Linked DNA regions of Homo sapiens: all the other regions are linked to region 2. Evidence: promoter capture Hi-C in 16 types of primary human blood cells and fetal thymus (Javierre and others, 2016). All regions are on one chromosome and are shown on one strand. The core of a region is centred on a gene start or on the middle of the fragment in contact, and the rest is flanking DNA. Distances in the headings are between cores, read along the strand shown.

Region 1 (3,234 bases), core at 527-3,026, 290 kb before region 2:
TAAATATAAAATATTGGTCTTGCTATGTGCCCTGTAACTCAAAAGTTGGAATTATGATATGTTACAAATATAAATTATTCAAGTGAGAACTAGCAAACTAGTTGAAAATTCTGATTCTTTCATTATATTTCCAACTTTATCCATGTGAGAGGAAAAACTAATTGAATAGCTTAAAGGAGAGGAAAAAAAAAGAGAGTGTTTCAGATTCAGGGGAACATAGAAGATTGAAATAATTACAAGTAAGAACAGTATTACAGCTCCTGTAGGATTATGTTTCTTATTTCTTCCTATATCTCCTATAATACACAGCCTCGTAGTTTTAATATGACAAATACTTAAAAATTTTTTGAGTTGAAAGTCCTAGGTTTATATAATACATCGTTCATACAAAGAACCATGAGAAGATATAAAAATAGTGTGGTAAAAATTTGGATGAAGCTGGAGTAAAAGAACCAGTATTAGTCTTCTTTTCAAAAAATAATTACAACCTTTATTTTAGATTTAGGGGGTACATGTGCAGGTTTGTTACATGGCTATATTGTGTGATCCTGAGATTTAGGGTATGACTGATCCTGCCATCTACACAGTAAACATAGTAACCAATTGTTAGTTTTCAATCCTTGCTCCCCTCCTTCTCTCTGCCCTTTAGCAGTCCCCACTATCTATTGTTGCCATCTTTATGTCCATGGATACTCAATGTTTAGCTCCCACTTATAAGAGAGAACATGTAAGATCCTATGTTCTTAAAGCACTAGAAAAGGCTAGAAATTTTCTGAAATATGTGGTTGACCTATATAAAATTTAGGAAATGAAATGATGGGTGATAGAAGAAAGAAACATGGAAAGTTGGGAGTGGGAATGTGGGGGACAAGTAATATGACAATGAGAAGAGGGCTTTCTACGGAACAAATTCTTAACATTTAATGCCTAACATATTGAGAAGAATTATATTTAGCTTCGCCAATTCATGGATCTAGCTTTGTAATTACAATTCTCTAATATTGGCAGAAATGACGGTAGCAGAAAATCAGGATTAAAAATGTATTGTAAACAACAAAGAATACCTTCTATTTCCAGATAATGTAGAATGAACACTATATAGCAGAGATACTGAGGATACTGAGGGGGATGTTGAGGTAGATGAAGATAAGGGGAAGAATTTACTACGACGGAAGCTCATCATCTCACAAGTATGAAACAGATAACCTTCAGTTCCATTTCAAACAGCCATCAGCAAGTTAGAAGTATTTGAAGAAATAATGGTGTCTATTGACCTTGTTACACACTATTAACAATAGCAAATTTAAAATTTGCATATATTCTGTTAAATTAATTTATTCCTAAATATATTCTTTATACTACTGTAAATAGTATTTTTAAATTTTTTCCCATTGCTATAGATACTAGCATATATATATATATATATATATACGCTAGTATATATATATATATATATATATATATATATACGCTAGTATATATATTCCATATATATGGAATATATGGAATATATATATGCCAGTATATATATTCCATATATATGGAATATATGGAATATATATATATGGAATACAATTGATTTTTGTACATTTTCCTTGTATCTTATGACCTTGTTTAACTTATTAGTTCTAATGCTTTTTTTATATGTTTCTTAAGGTTTTTTATATACACATTCATGCAATTGTGTCATCTATAACATGCATGCCATTTATTAAGTTTTCTTGCTTTATTGTGCTAGCTGGCACCTCCAGCATAATATGAGTAGTTAATATTCTTGTCTTTTCTCCTAATCATGAGAAAAATGTTTAGTCTTTCATTTTTAAATATGAAGTTTAGCTATAGGCTTTTTATAGATGCCTCTTGATTGAGGAAGTTTCCTGATATTTGTAATTTATGTGATATTTTATCAGGAATGGATATTGAATTTTCTCAAATGATTTTTCTGGTGGCAATTAGAGGATCATATGGTTTTTTATTTATTCTGTAAATGTGTTATATAATTTGATTTTTAAATGTTAAGCTAGCCTTGCATTCCTGAGATAAAACCTCCTTGGTTATGACATATTATTCTTTTTATATATTGTTGAATTTGATTTGTTAACATTTGTTAAAAATTTTTGCATCTATGTTCATAGGAAATTCTGAATTGTAATTTTATTTTTTTGCATTACACAGGTCTGCTGATAAAAAAACTCAGTTTTTGTCTGAAAATGTCATTATTTTGCCTTCTGAAGAATATTTTTGCCAAATATACTAATCTATACTGATATTTTTTTTCTTTCAGCACTTCAATTGAATTGTGGTTCATATTTATTTCTCAGGAGAAGTCAGCAGTCACTTTTATCATTGTTCCCCTATAGGTAATACGTCTTTTTTCCTCTGGTAATTTTAAAGATTTTTCTCTTGGTTTTTAGCAATTTGATTATATGCTATGTAGTGTTTTTTTTGTTTATTCTGCTTGAAGTTCATTGAGCTTCCTGAATTGGTGATGTTATCTTTTTTATCAAATTTGAGAATTTTCCTACCATTATCTCTTCAAAATATTTTTCTGTCCCATTTTTTTCTCCTCTCTTTTGAGACTACAATTGTGTGTATGTGAAGCTGCTTTTTTAGGGTTGTCATTTTTACACTAAGAATTTCCAATTATTCCGTCATTATGTTCATTTTTCTCCCTTTAAATGTTTGAATCTATTTATGGCAACTGTTTTATAGTCCTTGTCTGCTAATTCCATTATCCTGTCATTTTTAGTCTATTTCTATTGACCAATTTTCCTGCTTTTTTTGTATGTCTAGTCATTTCCTATTGAATGCTTGACTCAATGAATGCTATGTTGCTGAGTGTTTGGATTTTGCGGTCTTCTTGGTTGAGTGTTAAGTTTTGTTCAGGTATGAAGTCAATTTACTGTTGAATCACCTGATTTTTTCAAGGTATTCCTCCCTCCCTCCCCAAATACCCATTATTTTTATTTTTAAAGCCATTTTGTATGAGACAAAACTTCCAAAATAATATTAAATAGCAAGCATCCTTCTTTATCAGGGCTTAGTTTTAAAATTTGTAAAGATAGGTATGGAGTAACTCTTACTTTAGGGATAGATTAGTCCTACTTCTAAACATAGACTTTATAAGATAAATACCCTTCTGAATACCAGGGTTATTTAATGAAGGAACTCTGGTAGTTGTTCAGCTCAAAGATCCCTAGTAGTTTTTCTTTTCCTAGTGTTTGTGAATTTTGT
Region 2 (2,972 bases), core at 169-2,668:
GTGATGTCCAGTATTGGGATTGCATACTATTTCTTAAAACTTCTTAGAACTGTTAGCTCTAATATATCAAATTTCTTGTTGGGAGTAAGACTGCAAGTTAAAAAAAAAAATTAGAACCTTAGTTTGGAGGAACCTTAAAGGTCATGTCAACTGAAAAAATACGAAAGGAATGGTACTGAAAGGCATGAACATAACAGAGATTGAATGCTTTCTCCAGGTGGAGAGACTCCACAGTCTGGCAGGGACTTTTTGTCCTATTTAAAAATATAGCTAACACCAGTTTGGTGTTCTCTTTGGATGACAAGAGGGATCTGTCGTTTTAATGTCTTCTCTCGCAGCCCCCTCACCGCAGCCCCCTCACACCTGTGAGGCTTCTTTGACGTTGAGCGTGCACAACCCGCTGCCAGTCCGCGGTTCCCAAGTGCCCGCGCAGCCAGCTTGCAGGGGAGTTGTGCGCGGTGGCTACAGCCTGTTGATCCCACTTCCTCCTGCTCTAGTCCGGGCTAGGGAGTGGCTCTGCCAGGACTTCCAAGGCTTTTTGTCTCGGGTACTGGTGTTCGCATGGCTCGAGTGTATTGTTTTCTTCCAGGCAATCTCGGTTAGCGCTTCAGCTTAGACACTTCTTGTGCGTTCTGTCGTCTTGGGCTGCGTGTAGTCTCTTGTTTCTGCGCTTTCTCCACGCCCTTCCCAGTTTCCTGTTAGCCGAAGGGGATCGCTCTTTCTGAACGAAAAGTTCTCAGAGCGGAGCTGAACCTCCCGGAAAATGCTCTTCTCTTCCGTGTGCGCCGGATGGGGGTGGGGGTGGGCCAGAAACTGAACGCCGCCGTCAGGAGAGCTGAGGGGACCCGACGGCCCTGGCGGAGGCGGGAGAGGTACGGTCCTCGGAGTGGGGCTGGGGGTGGGGAAACCGACGAGGGGCAGCCCCCGACTGTCTTGGTGGCAGAGGGGACTTTTATTCAGCTGGAACCGCGCGGCGAGGCCCAAGTGTCTCTGGAGAGATTCGGGGTTCAGGAGGTGGCGGGTGCACCCAAGGGTGCTGGGAGGAAGCTCCAGGTTCCCATTCTTCCCCAGGGATCGGCGTTGCCCCTGCTGTCCAGAAGTGAGAGGGGGTGTGCGGGCATCGCCACTACGGGGTGGGCTGCAGAGGTTTCCTGCCTCCCCCACCCTCCTGTCCATCCTAGGGACCCAGACCGTAAGGGAGTGGAAGAGATGTTGCTCCAAACCCTGTCACCCCATCCTCTCTACCCGCGCTGGTCCTATCCGAGGCTGGGTGCGCAGGGGTCCGAGGCGGGCGGGGGTCCGTTACCTCTGCGTCCCACCGTGGCCGCCGCTCCGGCGGGAACCGAGCGGAGGAGCCGGGTGGACCCCTGCCTGGAGGGCGCCTGCCCCGGGCGACCCTTACCTCGCGGGGGTAGCTAGGGAAACGGAAGATGGCGGCGGCGGCCGGGCACGGGGTTCCGGGCTCCGCTCGGGCAGAGCCCACCCGCTGACCAACGCCGCCGCCCCCGCCGGGCGGTGCTGTGTCCCCGCAGGAGTCGGAGAGGATGGCAGGGGCCGGAGGCCAGCACCACCCTCCGGGCGCCGCTGGAGGAGCGGCCGCCGGAGCCGGCGCCGCGGTCACCTCCGCCGCTGCCTCGGCGGGGCCGGGAGAGGATTCGTCTGACAGCGAAGCGGAGCAAGAGGGACCCCAGAAACTGATCCGCAAAGTGTCTACCTCGGGGCAGATCCGGACCAAGGTAGGGCGGAGGAGGCGGGCCTGAGGGCCGCGTGGAAAGCGGGAGGTGGAGAGGGCGCGGGGGCGCTGGAACGCGCCGGGCGATCCCGGGAAGGCGGGGAAGGCGGGGAAGGCGGGGAAGGCGGGGAAGGCGGGGAAGGCGGGGAAGGCGGGGAAGGCGGGGAAGGCGGGGATGGTGAGACGGTGAGGCGGGGCGGGGCCTGGGGCGCGGGCGGGGCGGGGAGGGGTGGGGCGGGGCCCGGGGGCGCTGGACCGCGGTGCTGCGGGACGGATTCCCGGCGGCTGCGCGGGAGGCTGCGAGCCTGGGCTCCCAGGGAGTTCGACTGGCAGAGGCGGGTGCAGGGAACCCGCGGCTCGGCGGGAGCGTGGGAAAAAGCTGACGCGCAGTCGCGAGTTCCTACTTAGGGAACTTAAAAGGAGAGTTTCAATTTTTCTTCCCTGCCGTTCGGGGGAGCGTGCGCATGTGCTGGCCAACCAGCCTGCGCTGCAGTGAGCCCTGCTGCTTTCCCACTTAGGCCCACTCAGAGGGTGGGTGGAAGGTGACACCGGTCAGCCTTTCCTGCCCCTCTGCCTCCTGCTGCGGTCTGGAAGGCAGAAGCCCCGAGGCAGGCAAGTGGGACATGGTGTTCGCGGCTTAACCGCACCCTGCATGGCTCCAAGGGCTGGCCAGGCTTTCGTGTCGCAGGTTCCCGCCAAGTGCAGGCAGGGTTCAGAACCATGCGTCCATGGTTCTTTTTAATAATGAGAAGTTACCTCTGTGCTGTGTGGACATTAGGATGGTGTGTTACTCTTGTTAATGAAGCTTGTGCTGTCGACCTGTGAGGTCTCAAAGTTAATTTTTAATTTGATCATGAACATACCAAAGCAAATGCTTATGGATATTAAAGGATTTTTATGTATTCTAATTTTCATTGTAATTTAAAAATCTTCACAGAGAGAGTCTGTTATCAGTAGGGAAATTTAACGAGGATATTGAAAACGGAACCACAAAATCATTGGCTTGGGGTACCGTTTTTAAAAATAAATTTGCAAAAAATTCATTCTACAGTTATTTTTATGAAAAATTTTCCCTAAGGTCAATGAACTCCTATTTGGAAACATAATTTTTATTCAGTGCCTGTGGAGGCCGGTAACGGTGGCTCATGCCTGTAATCCCAGCACTTTGGGAGGCCAAGGCAGGCAGATCACTTGAGGCCAGGAGTTCCAGACCAGCCTGGCCAACATGGTGAAACCCCAT
Region 3 (3,029 bases), core at 191-2,690, 350 kb before region 2:
TACATAACTGGAAAACAGGTTAAATTGACTCCATGATCAGAAATTTGTTAAAAATACGATATTCAAATAGTTTTTAATTTTCTCTTATTGTTAGTCCAGTCCTGGCAAATCTTCATGCAAGTATAATGTCATAAAAAGAATTTATTGATATTTAATTATACACATATCTATGGTTATATATATCATGTTAAAATCTATACGTGCATAACAGGAAATTCTCTTGTGCATTACAACAAAAAAGGCACTTAAAGGGATGGGCATGCATGCATCTTTCTGGTTAGAAAGCTATAGAAATCCTTGGCAATTTGTGGGACAAATGTGGTGTTTCTTACAGCTTCTTCTTTGTTCCACCAGAAAGGTTTCTTAGATGTAAACTTCTCGGAAGGGAGGATGAGACGATGAAGGGCCCGGCCAGTAGTATCTAACAACAGGATAACATTACTCTGCAAATGATAAAAACAGTGAAAAGCTCAAGATTTGTTCTTTTTTTTTTTTTTTTTAAAGCAGCAACCTCTTGGCAACCTGACAGTGAAGGTTATAGTGATAAATCAAAACAAAGACAATATTGTAATACTTAAGAAATATCACAAAGACATTAAGTGATTTTTCTTAAGAATCACAAAGAATTAAGTGCTTCTTAATTTAAGAATTTAAAATTTTTGGTGGTTTTATGAAGACGTTTCTAAATATGTGATGCAGAAGGTATTCTCTTTAAATATTTTTATGTAAAAACCATTCCCTTTTAAATATAAGCTAGTTGAACCATGATTCTGTTTTATTATCTAGTTATAAGGAAATTACAAGGATTGATGATTTTAAGAAATTCATCTACCTGTAACAAAATTATACTTAGAGAATGCTCAGTTGAAAGCTCTCTTATATTGTGCATAATTAAATCTCATTTATCTTTTTCACAAATCCAGGTTCAATTTAGAAAATAGGTATAAAATAGATATAAAGAGGACTAAGCAAGAAATATGAAGGACTCCAAGAAACTAGCTAGTAATGAATGTTCCTTCATTTAGAAATTCACCAAGCTTGAAGAACCTTCATAACTGGTGCTGTAATAAAGTACAAACAACAGATTTCTGCAGCATTATTAATCACAGCTATGCAATGATGTAATCTTTCAGTAATTAGGATACGTTTTTTTAAGAAAATAAATAAACCTTATGTGTTGAAATAAATGAACTGAAATACATGAAATAAAAACTTAACATTGAGAAAGCCAGAAAAAATTAAATATTTTAAAGGGATGCAAAGAAGTTGGCTTTTTAGTTAAAATATAAAGAATTTTGAAGATTAGACTAACAGGTTTGCAGAAAGGTACCTGCAAGTTATTTGTCAGACCTCATTGTTATGCGGGTGTCTTTTCTTTCTTTGTTTTATTTTATTTTAAATGTGGGGCTCCTCCAGTTATCCTAACTCTTGTGAACTTTTCATTTCAAGAAGAATTTCTTTTGGAGAAAATAAAGTCACAAAGCACATGAAGAATTAATAAAAACCTTGAAAAATATAGAAAACAATAAAATGTGAAGTGTTTGTTCATTTTTTCCATAATATTTATTGAGGAGCTTATATTTAATATATAAAGAATACAACAATGAATTAATCATGACCCTTGCCTTCTGTCATATAATTTAGTTAGAGAAATAAAAAGAAATGTAAAAAAATGAATGATTCATCTGCAAATCTAGCATCTCAGTGTGGGTTTAATTTTATTTTACAAGCTAATTTTGTGGAAGTGTTCAAGAATTAAAATAGTATTTGCACCATATAACTCACTTCACACCATATACTCTGAATTTTATTTGTATTAAAAAATTTTACTAAGCATGTTAACCAAGCTTAAATTTCTTTCATAAACATCACCCTTAGAATGTATCATTCTGTATAAGATATAATTCTCCATTAAGAATGTGTGTTAGAAATATTCTTTTAAAAATTAACATATAAGAAGTGTCATTCACCACTACTTGACAGTTTTGAAAATGGTAATGATATCTTAGAGTTTTCCTTAAGAAAAAAATAAAATTAAGTTAAAAATTTATAATCTCTATTCTAGATTAAATATTTTTTGAATGAGTACTTTTTGATGGAAAAAATATTTCTTGTATAATAAATATGTACAACGTTAAAATGAATTCTTAGCACTTAAGCAATTTGGGATAATATTAGCCTTTGTAAGCAAAGGAAGTCCTAAAAATGTTTCATGCCCAAAAATGAGTAAGCATAAGAATAAGCAGTTGATTAAACAAATATGATCAAGCAGAAAAAGAAGTTAGTATCGTCTTCCATTTTCCTACCTTTTTAGGGTCTAATACTTACATATTCATAACATGGCATAAGTGAACTGAAAAACTGTATCTTTCTAAGTGACAGAAAACATGTATTTCCAGCCACTGCTGTATTTAGAATTAGTTTATAAGCAATTGGCAACATGAAGGAGTTCTGTTGCTCCATCCTTTTAGATGTTAATGGTTTCCTTCTGTAAATGACTAATGATAGATTCTGTCTGGGTTTAAAAATAGAATTTTGCGTCACACATGAGTACATGTAACTGTGGCTTTGGCACTCCTTTAAGGGGGGCAGGGAGGAGACGCGAGTGAGCAATTTTATTATGTTTGTATTTAACTGGGAGAAAAGTAACCTCTGGATGACCTCAATGTCCCTAAATCTGAAATTCTAAACTTTGTACAGATGTAATAAATAATCTCATGGGGAGTGGGGGAAGGGGAGGGTCTTTATTTTTAGGCATGGCAAAGTTTCCCTTTCCTTACTTAAGATTTTATTTTAGCAAGGAATTTTTGAACAACTTCTTAAACTAACCAGGGACATGCATCTGAGCAAAGCTTTATGTTAAAAAGGCAAGGAATAGCCGAATTCATGGAAGTACTTCTCTATAATATTTTGCTTCATTTTCAGTTAGGGTAGAATGAAGAAGAAGGAATTGATGGCAGTCTACTTATTTTTCATTCCACTAGAATTATTTATCAGTTGTTAAATTTCACAGCTGTGTGCTGTTCACA
Region 4 (3,232 bases), core at 341-2,840, 400 kb before region 2:
GGTCAGGCTGGTCTAGAACTCCTGACCTCAAGTGAACTGCCCACTTCTGCCTACCAAAGTGCTGGGATTACAGGTGTGAGCCACCACGCCCGGCCAAATTTTCCTGATTTTTATGTGTAGGGTTGAACAATGGAACCTAATCTGAATCATTAATTCATTCATGGATTCATTCAGTGAGTAATGATGATGAGTGACGACCACGTGCCGGTGCCCTGATGTTTACAGTCTAGGCATTTTAAATATACTACTTCTGATATTCATAATTCTCCATATTAGGTATTATTTCTACTTTGCAGGACAGGAAACTAAGGCTTAGAGATGTATAGCAACATACTCATTATCACATAGTTATTAATTGGAGGAGCCAGGATTGAAATCTCAGTCCATCTCCTTCTAAAACCCAGGTTTATCAGATTTTTTTTTTACTACATTACACTGGCTATAAACAATGAATGTATTCTTGATAGTACAAAATTCAATGTTTTATAAAGCATATCATGGTTTAGGAAAGCAAGAAATATGCCTGAAAGGCAAGCATTTTTCCTTTTTAATATATATCAGATTTATAGAAAGCACTGTATACATCAGTAAATAAGACATTAGATTAAAGGGCTAGCATATCTTTCAGAAGGTTAGTAAAATACTGTATTTATGTATGGTCTGAACTGCATCATACCAGACAATCCTGAACATGATCTGCAGACTCAATGCTTGCCCTAGTGGCTCACGTCTGAAAATGTCACTTACTGGCCACAGGACATTGGGTGTACTATGTAATCTGTTTGAAAATCTGTTTCTTCATCTATAAAATGGGACTATCATCATTCTATCACATAGGAAGCTACAAAGAGAAAATGGAGAGATACATGTAGAATACTTAACAGTGATGGGCAGGCTTCAGTACCTTACCTTTTCCTCACATATTACACACACAGCTTTACTAACAGTAGCAGTAAAGTACATCTCTGTTTATCATTTACACAGAAAAAAAGAGCTCCAATGGAAATGCCCCAGAACATGAAGATCACTGACTTTGATGGCCTGCCTGTGGTAAAACTTAGGATATAAATGAGGATCAGAAGCTTTTGGGAGACATTTTCTGGATGTGTCAGGTTTAGCGTGACTAAAGAAGGGTTTGAATATAATCCCTAAACTACAAGTAATCTTCCACTTATGCATATTAGGTAAGGATAAATGAACAGTTACATTAACACACAGAGCATATCTACAAACAAATAAGATTTTCTTAAATACATTAGAATGTGTTCATTTAAAAGACTTATTTGAAAAAAATAAAAAGAATTTTAAAAGGTTGTTATTTGACATTGTCACTCTGAATGCATATATATTTATTTCATTCATTTGACAAATGCTTACTGAGTGTCCAGTAAGTTCAGGGCACTGTGCTAGCATTGGGCATATGCTGATACACAAAACAGCAATGGTTTTTTCCCTTCAAAATCAGCTTTGAAACCATGAGTAGAATCAGTCACATTATTTACTGATAAATATACATCGCTAAAAGAATTCAAGTCTGGGCCAGGTGCAGTGGCTCATGCCTGTAATCCTAGCACTTTGGGAGGCCGAGGTGGGTGGATCACTTGAGGTCAGGAGTTTGAGACCAGATTGGCCAATATGGTGAAACCCTTTCTCTACTAAAAATACAAAAATTAGCTGGTATCATGACGCATGCCTGTAATCCCAGCTACTCAGGAGGCTGAAGCAGGAGAATCGCCTAAACCCGGGAGGCAGAGGTTGCAGTGAGCCAAGATCGCACCACTGCACTCTAGCCTGGGCGAAGGAGCGAGACTTTGTCTCAGGAAAAAAAAAAAGAATTCAAGTCTGACTGACTAAAGCCTAAGCTCATCATAAAACCCACCACCTAGGAGAAAATATTAAATGATGCATGTCTTGGAGAATCAACGTAGTTAGCAGAGGAGAGCTTTCCTAACACAATAGAAAAATGCCTTTGGACGGTGTCGGTAGTCCCCTCAGTAAAGTGTCTCACACTTCCTGAATCTGATCACTGGTAATAATGATGATAAAAAAAGATTTCCTTTTTTTAGCATTGGAAAAAACCCTACCCAAATAATTTTTGGAAGCTTGAGATTACATTATTTATCTGGTTCAGGTTTTAAAAATATTTCTGATTTTTTTCTGCCAAAATCCAAGCCCTCTTTCCTCATACAGAACAACTTAGATTTCTGAAATAGTTCTTCCCTTGACATTACTTGGGAGGTGGGCATTATTTCCCCAGAAAAGTAAACAAGGGAATAAAAACAAGGTGACTCAAAGGATGAGGAAGTATGTTTTTGTAGAGAACAAAAGATCCTTTCACAGTATGTCAAAGACTTAACTGTGAACTTTCCCGAATGTAAACACTGTTCAAATGGCAAAAGGAATTTCATCTATGTCTATAAAAGGTCCTGAACAATAGCTCTTGCTTGAAGCTACTTTTGACGGGGCCGTAAAATAATCTTTTCTTCAAATACTTTACATACAGACCTACAAAAACTTTTTCATCTTCTCAGGAGACATACAATTATAATTACCTTCATAATAGCAACAATAACACATAGAAGCACGGTACTGCTAAAGGCAATTAATGTCATAAATTATAAGCAGCATCATTTATGCTTAGAGTCTTCAGGAATAAAGAAATGCTTTAAGAGATAGTTTAAAATATTAGGCTAATGGTTTCCATTTAGCCTAAGAATTTAAAACTTATAGGGGCTGAGTACGGTGGCTCATGCCTGTAATCCCAGCATTTTGGGAGGCCAAGGCGGGTGGATCACATGAGGCCAGGAGTTCGATACCAGCTTGGCCAACATGGTGAAACCTCGTCTCTACTAAAAATCCAAAAAGTAGCTGGGCGTGGTGGGGGGGTGCCTGTAATCCCAGCTACTTGGGAGGCTGAGGCACGAGAATCACTTGAACCCGGGAGGCGGAGTTGCAGTGAGCTGAGATTGCGCCACTGCAGTCCAGCCTGGGTGATGGGGGACACTCTGTCTCAACAACAATAACAACAACAAAAACATAGGGCAGTAGATTTCTTTAAACAGATTTCATTATGATTACAAAAAAGGAATATTAATATTTTAAACCAAAAGGAATTATGAGATATCAGTTAGCTAAAATAAATATTTAACTTTTCCTACTTTAAAGTTTTACTCTTTACAAACCTCCTAGTTTTAATAATTGTAAAATGAACACTAGTAATTATTTAATGACA

Evidence for each region. Contacts are between HindIII fragments. The CHiCAGO score rates a contact against its expected background, and 5 or more counts as called.
Region 1: a contact is called between a fragment that was not itself captured here and the fragment with the promoter of DGKH in region 2, in 2 of 17 cell types (M1 macrophages and M2 macrophages). The highest score is 5.6, in M1 macrophages.
Region 3: a fragment that was not itself captured here is called in contact with the fragment with the promoter of DGKH in region 2 in 5 of 17 cell types (M1 macrophages, megakaryocytes, monocytes and 2 more); the score reaches 10.7 in M1 macrophages.
Region 4: a fragment that was not itself captured here is called in contact with the fragment with the promoter of DGKH in region 2 in 3 of 17 cell types (monocytes, M0 macrophages and M1 macrophages); the score reaches 6.9 in monocytes.

The regions. Positions count from the first base shown.
Region 1 is chr13:41,756,962-41,760,195 of GRCh38, forward strand. The region is part of intron 21 of VWA8 (von Willebrand factor A domain containing 8); the gene reads right to left. Among named protein-coding and RNA genes, the nearest start is that of MIR5006, 190 kb to the left of the region's middle. The HindIII fragment of the contact is 5,036 bases long and covers 1-3,234 here.
Region 2 is chr13:42,047,230-42,050,201 of GRCh38, forward strand. It overlaps DGKH (diacylglycerol kinase eta), which reads left to right and starts at 1,419. Exons shown (of 30, transcript NM_178009.5): 1 at 1,419-1,736. The coding sequence starts at 1,545. RefSeq lists an enhancer at 566-655 and a silencer at 1,196-1,725. The HindIII fragment of the contact is 8,345 bases long and covers 1-2,535 here.
Region 3 is chr13:41,692,530-41,695,558 of GRCh38, forward strand. It overlaps VWA8 (von Willebrand factor A domain containing 8), which reads right to left. Exons shown (of 45, transcript NM_015058.2): 30 at 333-443. Among named protein-coding and RNA genes, the nearest start is that of MIR5006, 130 kb to the left of the region's middle. The HindIII fragment of the contact is 810 bases long and covers 1,036-1,845 here.
Region 4 is chr13:41,646,171-41,649,402 of GRCh38, forward strand. All of the region lies in intron 37 of VWA8 (von Willebrand factor A domain containing 8), which reads right to left. Among named protein-coding and RNA genes, the nearest start is that of MIR5006, 79 kb to the left of the region's middle. RefSeq lists an enhancer at 2,304-2,448 and a cis regulatory region at 2,370-2,381. The HindIII fragment of the contact is 1,020 bases long and covers 1,081-2,100 here.